Regions from separate parts of the Homo sapiens genome. Here region 2 is linked to region 1. The links are contacts of gene promoters, found by promoter capture Hi-C in blood cells and fetal thymus (Javierre and others, 2016). All regions are on one chromosome and are shown on one strand. The core of a region is centred on a gene start or on the middle of the fragment in contact, and the rest is flanking DNA. Distances in the headings are between cores, read along the strand shown. Region 1 holds the start of BICDL1 (BICD family like cargo adaptor 1). Region 2 overlaps GCN1 (GCN1 activator of EIF2AK4).

The links. The method cuts DNA at HindIII sites, captures the fragments that hold promoters and counts their contacts. A CHiCAGO score of 5 or more calls a contact.
Region 2: a fragment that was not itself captured here is called in contact with the fragment with the promoter of BICDL1 in region 1 in 1 of 17 cell types (activated CD4 T cells); the score reaches 5.7 in activated CD4 T cells.

The regions. Positions count from the first base shown.
Region 1 is chr12:119,987,985-119,993,497 of GRCh38, reverse strand. It overlaps BICDL1 (BICD family like cargo adaptor 1), which reads right to left and starts at 4,262. Exons shown (of 10, transcript NM_001367886.1): 1 at 3,201-4,262. The coding sequence starts at 3,629. RefSeq lists silencers at 3,285-3,494, 3,505-3,574, 3,625-3,714, 3,995-4,634, 4,655-4,714 and 1 more and enhancers at 2,646-3,617, 3,618-4,591. The HindIII fragment of the contact is 12,107 bases long and covers 1-5,513 here.
Region 2 is chr12:120,132,370-120,137,897 of GRCh38, reverse strand. GCN1 (GCN1 activator of EIF2AK4) reads left to right here. Exons shown (of 58, transcript NM_006836.2): 49 at 84-353; 50 at 579-692; 51 at 1,166-1,396; 52 at 3,172-3,365; 53 at 3,493-3,607. Among named protein-coding and RNA genes, the nearest start is that of RAB35-AS1, 18 kb to the right of the region's middle. RefSeq lists enhancers at 4,591-4,790, 5,001-5,050. The HindIII fragment of the contact is 4,171 bases long and covers 1-4,146 here.

The DNA.
Region 1 (5,513 bases), core at 3,013-5,512:
AAGAGACATATAACTAAAAAACTTCTGTTAACCTTTAAACCACTGAAGACTTTAAATATTAATAGTATGCCTTTAATGACACAATAGTGTAGCATCAAGTACTTTAATGTTTGAAATGAAAACAACAAAATCTTGGGCTTGGCACACAGAACCAGAGAGGTATTTAGTATTAACTAATGAATAGGTAGAAAAGATCTTGAAAATGCCTTGTTTGTCCCGACATTAGAAAGGTGCCGGCCCGGCGCAGTGGCTCATGCCTGTAATCCCAGCACTTTGGGAGGCCGAGGCAGGCGGATCACGAGGTCAGGAGCTCGAGAACATCTTGGCTAACATGGTGAAACCCCGTCTCTACTAAAAATACAAAAAAAAAAAAAAAATTAGCCAGGCGTGGTGGCGGGCGCCTGTAGTCCCAGCTGCTCAGGAGGCTGAGGCAGGAGAATGTCATGAACCTGGGAGGTGGAGCTTGCAGTGAGCTGAGATTGCGCCACTGCACTCCAGACTGGGCGACAGAGCGAGACTCCATCTGGGGGGCAGGGTGGGGGGGTGGAAGAAAGGTGCCAATTTTGAAGTAGTAGAGAAGATGGGATTAAAATAAAACCAGTCTCATTATTCAATAGTGAAAGTGGCATTCCCTCAGTCCACTCACATGTTTCTCTTTCAAACCACCCTGTAAGAAAATGTGTTTGACTCCAAATGTCCGACAGTTTGTGGAAGATTATAAATTTTTTTTTTCTGGTCAAGTTCTCTCATGAATAAATGCGTCTTAAAGTACTGGTTTTATACTCCCAAGTGTTTGATTTAATTGAAAATACAGGCCAGGCTCAATGGTTCACTCCTGTAATCCCACCACTTTGGAAGGCCAGGGCAGGAGGACTGCTTGAGCCCCGTAGTTTGAGACCAGCCTTGGCAACATAGTGAGACCCCATCTCTACGAAACATTTTTACAAAATTAGCCAGGTGTGTAGTAGGCGCCTGTAGTCCCAGCTACTCAGGAGGCTGAGTGGGAGGGTCACTTGAGGGTGCAGTAAGCCATGATCAGCCACTCCACTGCAGCCTGGGGGATAGAGTGAGATCTTGTCTAAAAAAGAAAAAAGTACAAAGTACAGCAGTTTGTACTGAACGTTAGAAAGTATTGTCTAAACAGACATTCTAAAACCTACATTGTTCAAACAATGTACTGTGGGGAAAACTAAACCGGAGGTGTCAAATAAAACAGTACTCTGTAAACCAGGTTTGTCACTCTCACATTAACACTAGAAAGATTAACAAGCAACTAATGGTACTCTCTTAGTATCTTTAATGAACATTTTTAAAACTTTAAAATTTTTTATAATTTTCAAACCTACCTATAAGAAATAATATAACTGACTCCCCTCATCACTGAGTTTCAACAATGATCAATATTTGGCCTGTAAGTATATGTTAAGTATATGTTAGTTATATTCACATTGTTGTGCGACTATCTCCAGAACTTAAAATTGAACTTTTAAAACTAGAGTTCATATGCTGACCTGCAGAGGAATGAAGGTTTTAAAAAATAGTTTAAAGAGTTTTAAACTATTGTTGTCCATTAAGTAAATAACAAAATGTCAAAGATAATTTATTCTTTTACAATACAACCTTTTTTTGTTACCATTCTGAAATCTTTGCCCTATGTTGAAGAAATGTATAAAGGCTCCACATGGAACCCAGAATGTATGTAATTGCACACTCAGGATTACTATGAAATCTGGCACTAATCAAACTGATACGGTGCTCCTTTCAAGTCAGCTGTCTCTTCAATCAAGTCCTTCACTGAAGAAATTTCAAATCACAAGTATAAATCTCTGTAGTTGTACTTCTTTACAAAGTCGTACAACTGAATCTCTTTATAAAAAAAAAAGGAAGGCTTTTTATTTCTAGACCTCTACTTCAAGTGAAAATTAAACAATTCAATTCATTAGGCTGCTTTTTGGCAGTCTACCTATAGGTTTCACAAACGACTTTTCAGAGAGGTATCTCAGGAGTTCATCGACTGGCAGACCTAGTTAGCAGGACAACCGAACTACAGGGCACTCACAGGTTTCCTTTTTTTCTCCCGGATTTACTTTTACGTCGCTGGACTATAGGCATACTTAAATCTTATTACAGAATATTTCTGAATTTCCATTCTGACTGTTCAACCAGTAGCAGAGATACGGAACCTGACTAGGGTCAATTTCAAACCTCATTCAGGTCTGTACTATTGTCTTGCTGTAACTAAGAATGAAAAGAGCTGGCTGCAACCAAACTAGGTAACAATAATAGTAAACGCACAGGCAGGAAAGGTAAGTCACAGGTGACTCCCTCTCCCCATCCCCCTGCCCCTTTTTTTTGCAATCTAATTTTTAGAAATGCTGGCATTCTGTACTGCATTCAAGGCCCTTTTCTAGTTAAGGGCAAGAAAACAAACAACTCTGAAAGACTGCCTAGAGAACTGGCAGAAATATTACGGATACCTTAACAGGTATTTTATAACAGAAGTTAAAGTAATATGGTTCTCATAGGTTGCATTTGGTCATTCAATTGCAAGCCTGAGACCCAGAACACAGAAAAGTACTGTTTAAATACACATAAATACTGAGGCCCAAATTAAATCCACTACCAGCGGTCACATGTTGAGCCCTGGCTCGCCTGATTTCTGCAATGGAACCACATTTCCTAATCCCTGAGCATTTGAAGGCTATATAAAGCTCCTTTAGGGGCACTTGTTTCCCACAACTCTGAGCTGCCAGGAAGTTAAGACAAGGGCATCTAAAGGCCTTAACGCCCAAACTGGAAGGCTTTAGGCTAACACCCTGATTAGAGATTAACTGCTCTGAAAACCTGCAACATATTTTAAATGCTTCCCGACTTCCTCATTTCTCTGTATGCAGACATCACCTCAGTGCTATATAGTCATACTGTAAGCTCTATTTTAGATGCTGGGTACAGTACGTATATAGAACGGCCCACAGCGGCTGGAGCCACGCATGGACCCATTTGCTGTGAGCGGGGTGGGGAAGTCAAGTGGGTTCAACGAAATCTGATAATCCTCCATCCTCCCTCCCCCATTCATTCCAGATTTTCTGCGAGGTAGGGTGAGCAACGAAGTGGGGGTGAGTGGTTCCCTAACTGCCCAGGGCCGGGCGCGTGCCTGGGCGGCCCCTGCTCCCCACCCATCCCTGGAGGGAGGTCCTCACCTCGAGCTTGTCTGTCAGCTCCTTATGCATCTGCTCGTACTGCCGGCTCATGTCCTGGTTCCTCTCGAGCAGCGCCTTACCCAGCCGGGCCGCCAACACCAGATCCTTCTCCTTCTGTCGGATCACCGACAGCAGCTCGGGGTCCTGGGAGGGCGGCGGCTGCGGTCCGGCCCCCTCGGCCAGAGACCCAGGCTCGGCCTGAGGGTGTTCCCCGGGGTCGGACGGCCGCTCCCCGGCCGCCAGCAGCGCCAGCTCCTCCTCTAACGCCAGTTCTAGCTCCCCGGAGCCCCCGGGGAAGATGAGGGCGGCGGCGGCGGCGGGACTCCGGACTGCGTCCCCGGCCGCGGCGGGCAGCTCCATGCAGCAGGCGCTGTCCGGCTCGGCGGGTGCTGAAGCGCGGCCGACCAAGCCCAGGCAGAAAGCGGACATGGCCCGCGCGCGCGGAGCCCGCAGCGGTGCGGCCCGGCCCGCGCGCGCCAGGCTGCAGGGGGGAGGGGCCCTGCCGCGCCGCCCCGCGTCCCGCGCCTCGCCTCGCGCCGCGGCACGCGCCCCCGGGTCCCCGCGAGCCCTGGGCGCGGCGCGCGCCGGCCCGCCCCTCCCCCGCGCCGGCGGCACGCGCCCCCTCCCCCGCCCCCGGGCTCAGCTGCTCAGGCGCGCGCGGGAGGAGGGGGTGGGGGTAGTGGCGGAGTAGGTGGTGGGAACGGGAAGGCTGGGGAAGGGAGGACTCAGGAACAGAGACTGAGGGTCGGCGAAGCGGGAGGGGAGGAAGCGAGGAGGAACGCCGCCGCCGGGTTCTCAGCCGCCCTGTTGCCGCTGCCGCTGCTGCTGCTGCTGCCGCCGCCGGCCGGGCAGCGCCTCACGGGGCGGGCTGCGCTCCGCTGTCGCCGCGACGCTTCCTGCTGCTGCTGCTGTTGCCGGCGGCCGCTCTCTGCAGCCGCACTCCATGACCCCCGGCTCCGCGGCAGCCCCAGCAGCAGCGGCGGCGACGGCGGCTGCTGCTGCTGCAGGGGCCGAGGCGGCGGCTCCACATCGCGCGCCGCGCAACCCGGCGAGCTCCTTCCTGCCTTCCCCGGCTCCTCCCGGCTCACCGGGCCGGCAGCGCCCCGCCCCGGGCTTCCGGCCGCGTCCCCTCGCCCCGCCCCTTGCCGGCGCCTGACGCGCGCGGGCACCTGTTCGCCCCGCCCGCGCGGGATTCGCCGGCTCGCGGGTCTCCTCAGCGACGCCCAGGTGGCGCCGGCGGCCTTAACCCCTGCTCTGCCTCACGCCCTGCGGGCGGCTGCGCGCGCCGCCTGCGGAGGCGGCTGGCGCATCCCTCACGGTCCTGGCTGCCTCACCGCGCGGCCACGCCCCCAGCCTTGCACCCACTTCGGGGTGCGGTTCCGCCCTCAGCCTCGCTCAGAGCTGGGGTGTGGCCACGCCCTCAGCTCTCGTACCTCGGGGTGTGGCCTCGCACCCGGCCTCGCTCTCACCTCGGACGGAGCGCGGCCCCGCCCACCGCCTGCTGCTCACCTCCAGGCGCGGCCCCGCCCCCAGCTACTTGGAAGCCGGGGCGCGCCTCAGAGTTCTGTTGCCGCATCTCTGGTGGTGTCTGGGGCAAAGGGGACTGAGGACATTCCTCCAAGACTGGTGACCCGGCCCCGAGAAAGACATACCCTCACGAAATTTAGGTCTGGGCCCCCAGGAGAACTAAGCAGTCAGGAGAGGGAGCCCTAGAGAGCAGTAGGAGGAGGGAGGACTTCGGAAACCAGGCATCTTCATGCTGATGACTCAGGGATATGAAGGACCAGATGCTTCGCAGATCAGCAGCCCGGAGAGAAAGGGTTTCTGCGGAGAAATAACGGAAAAAACTGCTCACAGATGGGAATACGAAGCAAAGAACCTCCCTAATAATAACTACCGTTTATTCGGCACTCAGTGTGTGCCATGTCCTGTATTAAGTGCTTGATAGTCATTATTTTAGATAATCCTCACAAGAACTTTATAAAATCAGTACTGCCGCTTGTCATTTTAACAGAGAAGGAAATTAAAGCCTGAGAGATGGCATCGTCTGCCCAGGTCATTACAACTGGTAGAGTCAGGATTGAGATCTAGCCAGGCCGACGCCAGGGATCACGTGAATCATTATTCTTTATTTTCTTCACATAGAAGCAGTCTTGAGGAAGATAAATGGTCCTTTGTGACCAAGATGGATTGGGTGGATATGGAAGGAACATTTCCTCAATGATTAAAGGAAGGTTTGGAGAGCCTACTGGGTGACTTGCAGTCATTCCTTGGTGTTGACCTCGTTGGTGGTGCTACGTGTCTCCTATTTCC
Region 2 (5,528 bases), core at 812-3,311, 150 kb before region 1:
AGGGGCGAGCCTGCTCCTGCTTTCTCATGTCCCGTCTGCCCGGAGGATCCCTGCTCAGCACACATGTCCCTTGTGGTTTGCAGGAGATGGCCAATTGTCAGGCTGTGATCCTCTCCGTAGAGGATGACACAGGGCACCGGATCATCATCGAGGATCTGCTGGAGGCCACCCGCAGCCCTGAGGTGGGCATGAGGCAAGCTGCTGCCATCATCCTCAACATCTACTGTTCCCGCTCAAAGGCTGACTACACCAGCCACCTGCGGAGCCTGGTCTCGGGCCTGATCCGCCTCTTCAATGACTCCAGCCCTGTGGTTCTGGAGGAGAGCTGGGATGCCCTAAATGCCATCACTAAGGTGAGGGGACTGCTGACCCCACAGCCAACTTTTGCTTTTAGAAAATTCCAGACATTTACAGGAATAGACTTATAAGAATCCCCCACGTACCTGTCACTCAGCTTCGGCGTTTACCCACTCGTGGCAAGTCTTGTTTATACTCCCGCCCACGCTTTCCCCATATATTCTTTGGAAGCAGTCTTGAGAGGGCTGTACATCCTCTCGCTTTTTCCTGGATTCCTGCAGAAGCTGGATGCTGGCAACCAGTTGGCACTCATTGAAGAGCTGCACAAGGAAATCCGGCTCATAGGGAACGAGAGCAAAGGCGAGCATGTGCCAGGATTCTGCCTCCCGAAGAAGGTAAGCCAGGGCCTCGTGCAGGGGGCTGTGGGCGTGCAGTCTGTTGTGCCCTTCTGGCCCTTACCCCTGTCCCAGGTCTGCGGTAGGGGCTGCTGGAGCAGTAGCCGTGGTGGTTGGTGTTCAGCACCTTCGCAGACAGCATGTTTTCTTCCATGGCAGTCAGATGGGGACAGGGTTCATGCTGCCTTTGGTTTAAGCTCTGCAGGTCACCTTGGCCAGAGTGAGTGGGCCACAGGGTAACAGCAGTGCATGTTCTCTCTGTGTGATAGGCCTGTTGGGGCCCTTGTCGTCTTTTCTCTGCCAAGACCGTTCCATAGCCAGCCCTCTCAGGCTGTGATCCTGAGATTCAGCCCAAATCAATATCTCCCATGGAGTTGAGGGGAGGACAGCTGTCAGGACCACTTTGCTTGCATGGGAGACACCAGGGCCCAGGGTGTTTGAGATTTGACTCTCAGTTGTGGTTCTCTTGTCAGGGAGTGACCTCCATCCTTCCAGTGTTGCGGGAAGGAGTCCTGACTGGCAGCCCTGAGCAGAAGGAGGAGGCAGCCAAAGCCTTAGGCTTGGTAATCCGCCTGACCTCGGCTGACGCCCTGAGGCCCTCCGTGGTCAGCATCACTGGCCCTCTGATCCGCATCCTGGGGGACAGGTTCAGCTGGAATGTGAAGGCGGCTCTGCTCGAGACACTCAGCCTCTTGTTGGCTAAGGTGAGTGGCTGATGAGTTTGTTCAGATCTTAGAGAACAGGTCTGTCTGCAGGAGCCTGATACAAGGTGTCATGTAGCAGCAGGGCAACAGATTTATTGTGGAGAGCCGCATAGCAGAGGGAGGTAAGACCTTGGACTTCAGACATGCTACACCATGGGTCAATTCCAAGTCGTCCTTACTAGCTCTGTGACCAGGATGACCTTGGGAAAGCCATATAACCTAAGCCTGTTTCCTCACCTACAATGTGAGACTAATAATACCAGCTGCCTCATGAAGGGCTGCTAGATATGGGGATTAGATGAGGTTATGTCCAGCATGATGCCTGCTACATACTAAGCACTCAGTACATGTGAAATGCTATTATTTTGAAAAACTACTTTTTCAAAGGAAAAAATTCAGGACCACGTAAATACAAGGAAAACATTGTTTAAAGATATTGCAGTTTTTGTTTTTTTTTGTTTTTTGTTTTGTTTTGTTTTGTTTTTGAGACAGAGTCTAACTCTGTCACCCAGAGCTGGAGTGCAGTGGCGCGATCTCGGCTCACTGCAACCTCCGCCTCCTGGGTTCAAGCAATTCTTCTGCCTCAGCCTCCCAAGTAGCTGGGATTACAGGTGTCTGCCACTACACCTGGCTAATTTTTTTGTATTTTTAGTAGAGACAGGGTTTCACCAGGCTGGTCTCGAACTCCTGACCTCGCACAGCTCAGATTTACCAGCTCCCCCTATCCCCTTTGTGTGCCTGCCACAGCCTGCACACCCACCCAACTCCAGTATTTCCAGACCTTCATTGGCACTGAACCTCCAAACAGTCACTCTGGTTTTCCTAATTAACAATAAGTAAGCCGGGCGTGGTGGCTCAAGCCTGTAATCCCAGCACTTTGGGAGGCCGAGGTGGGCAGATTACCTGAGGTCGGGAGTTCGAGACCAGCCTGACCAACATGGAGAAACCCTGTCTCTACTGAAAATACAAAATTAGCCGGGCATTGTGGCGGGTGCCTGTAATCCCAGCTACTCAGGAGGCTGAGGCAGGAGAATTGCTTAAACCCGGGAGGCGGAGGTTGCAGTGAGCTGAGATCGCGCCTTGCACTCCAGCCTGGGCAACAAGAGCGAAACTCCGTCTCAAAAAAAAAACAAAACAAAAAACAGTAAGTAAATCTTTACTCTTGGACCCACCTGTATTGTATCAAAAGTGTGCCTGTGTTTCTGTATAGTCAGGGGTTGAACTGGATTTTTAGTTAGGTGGGTACACATTTGTGCAGGGAGGATTCTCCAAGGTCATTTGTTTCACAGGCTTGTTCTGAGGGCTGAATGTGGAGTGCGTATCCTGCTGTCAGTTGCTCAGTAGATGGGCTCTGCAATTATACACTGAGTCCCTTTCCCTGTCTTGGCATTAGAACTGTGCTTCAGTACTGCCGATAGTCTGCCCTGCTTGTTAATGTATTCAGAGGAGGATTTGAGTCACTTATCGATATGGACAGGTCTCCACTAAGCCAAACCCCAACGCAGCCAAGGCTGCGAGACAGCTCCCTCAGATAGCGGCCGCCGCCTCCTCGGCCTCCTGCTCCTCCAGTGTATCAAAGCATGCTGGATATGACCAGGAGGCCAAGCGAAACCTGTCTGTGTTTGGCCTCTCTGACGGGCTATCTGTCCCCAGCCCTGTATGAGAGCTGGACTCGCTGTGGTGGTTTGGGATTGTCATTTGTTCTCATGCCTGTGGTACACTGTGGCTTTGGGTCTACCACAACTGTCTTTCATGGATGTGGGTTCCTCCCACAGGTTGGGATTGCCCTGAAGCCCTTCCTGCCCCAGCTGCAGACCACTTTCACCAAAGCCCTGCAGGACTCCAACCGGGGGGTGCGCCTGAAGGCCGCAGATGCTCTGGGGAAGCTCATTTCCATCCACATTAAGGTGGACCCCCTCTTCACAGAGCTGCTCAATGGCATCCGCGCCATGGAGGACCCAGGTGTCAGGTACGGCGCTGGCAAGGGAGCACTGTGGCCTCCAGGAGGCCAGGGGTTGCTGTGGGCCGAGCCTGCGCTGGCAGGAGGGGTGGTGGTGGAGGCACCCAGGGCTTAAGGCGGTGCATTGCTTCTGCAGGGACACCATGCTGCAGGCCCTGAGGTTTGTGATTCAGGGAGCAGGGGCCAAAGTGGATGCCGTCATCCGGAAAAACATCGTCTCACTCCTGCTGAGCATGCTGGGACACGATGAGGTACGGCTGCAGGCAGGACTAGTGGCAGCACTGGACCACTGGTTTCCCTCCTCCTCCTTAGGTTGAGTTCTTCACTTTGTGTTAGAACCAGTACAGCTCAGTAGTAATAAGCATTCCTGACATTTCTATCACCCTGTATGCTTCACCAACATTTCCTCGGGTTTCAAGGGAAACGGGGCAGGTATTGTGGATATATTGGTTATTTCCGTTTGTTTGTTTGTTTTTTGGCTGAGTCTTGCTGTGTCACCCAGGCCGGAGTGAAGTGGCACAATCTCGGCTCACTGCAGCCTCCGCCTCCTATCAAGCGATTCTCCTGCCTCGGTCTCCCGAGTAGCTGGGATTACAGGTGTCCGCCACCATACCCAGCTAATACTTGTACTTTTAGTAGAGATAGGGTTTCACCATGTTGGTCAGTCTGGTCTCAAACTCCTGACCTCAGGTGATCCACCCGCCTCGGGCTCCGAAAGTGCTGGGATTAACAGGCATGAGCCACCGCGCCCGGCCGGTTATTTCTATTTTATAGATGAGGCAAGTAAGCTTTGTAGAGACCCAGACCTCTCACCTATTTGCTCTCTGATCTTAAAGAAGTCACTTTCTCTGTCTGCCTCTCATTTCCACTTTTGTAAAATGAAGAGGTTTATTTATTGTTTTGTGAAACATTTGCCGAGCTAAAGGGCCTATCCCAGAGGTGCATAGACCTCGTGGTCACAGACCTCAAGAAACTTAGTGTGTAGTGGGATAAATGGTCTCCAGGGTGTGTCCCGGTGGCAAGTCTTAGAGGTCTATTTTCGAGGGTGAGACTTGTCTGGGCCATACCCAGCAAGTAGTAGAGTCCAAACCAGAAGCCCTGGACTCCTGGTTCTGTCCCAGTTCCATCAGCCTCACCTAGTCTGGAAGCATCTGTCAAATATTTGGCTGCGAGCACTGTGGGGCCAGTAGGGAGTTGAGTCTATGGAGAAGAGTTTTCTGTTCCCTTTTCAGACAGCCCTCTGTTGTGGTCTAATTTACTTTGTAGGGCCAATCTAGGAGGAGAGGGCCTTTGGGCTCACATGGTTTTACACGTCATTGACACACACACACACCCACACACACTCCTCCTGCCCACACCTGCAACACACACACTTGCTGCTGCACTTCCCATGGCTCCAAAGGCCTAGTTCTGGTCCCCAGGCGCCAGCTGTCGGACTCCAGCCCCAGCCTTCTCTGTGGGGACAGACAGGAAAGTCTGCTGTCTTGGTCACAGTCTTTCAGGGCTTCTACAGAGTCATGTGTACAGTGCAAGCAAAAGTTAGTATTGAAACATATTTGCATTTTACCACAGTGCAGCTTAAAATAGATGAAGTTGGAGAGAGTCGGTGTCAGAGCCAGCTTTAGCTTGGCACCTGGGCTTCTGCTTCGAGCTCAGAGGCCCAAACTGCTGGCAGTCCATTCTCTTACCCTCTGAACCTCCACTCAGATTGAAGGTGGCAGTTCAGGGTGCCAGCCTGGCATTAGCTTTTTGGGTTATTGAGTCCCTGGTTGGTGGTTTGTTTTGGGGACATGTTGAGTTGGCACCTGTAATAAGGAACATAACTTAAAATCCTCTCTTGGTATTCCATAGTTAGCTGGCCAGGGAGGAGCACGGAGCCGCTCGCGTACCTGGCTCTGATTTGAACAGGAAGTGCTTGCCTTTCCTTATCTTCCTTGGCTTGATTAGTGGCTTTAGTTTGACTTCCTAGGATGAACCCAAGTAATTTCGGTGGCAGTGGGGCACTCATGCAGTAGGGAGATAGCAGGAGTCATTCTGGCCACAAGATGACACAAACTCTGTGGGAGAAAGGAGCTCAGAGTGGCCGTCTCTAGCCGGCTTCCCTGGTGGCTGGGGGCAGGTGCCTCCCCTCCTGCCCCTCCCGCCCCTCCCTGCCTCACAGGGCTGTTGATA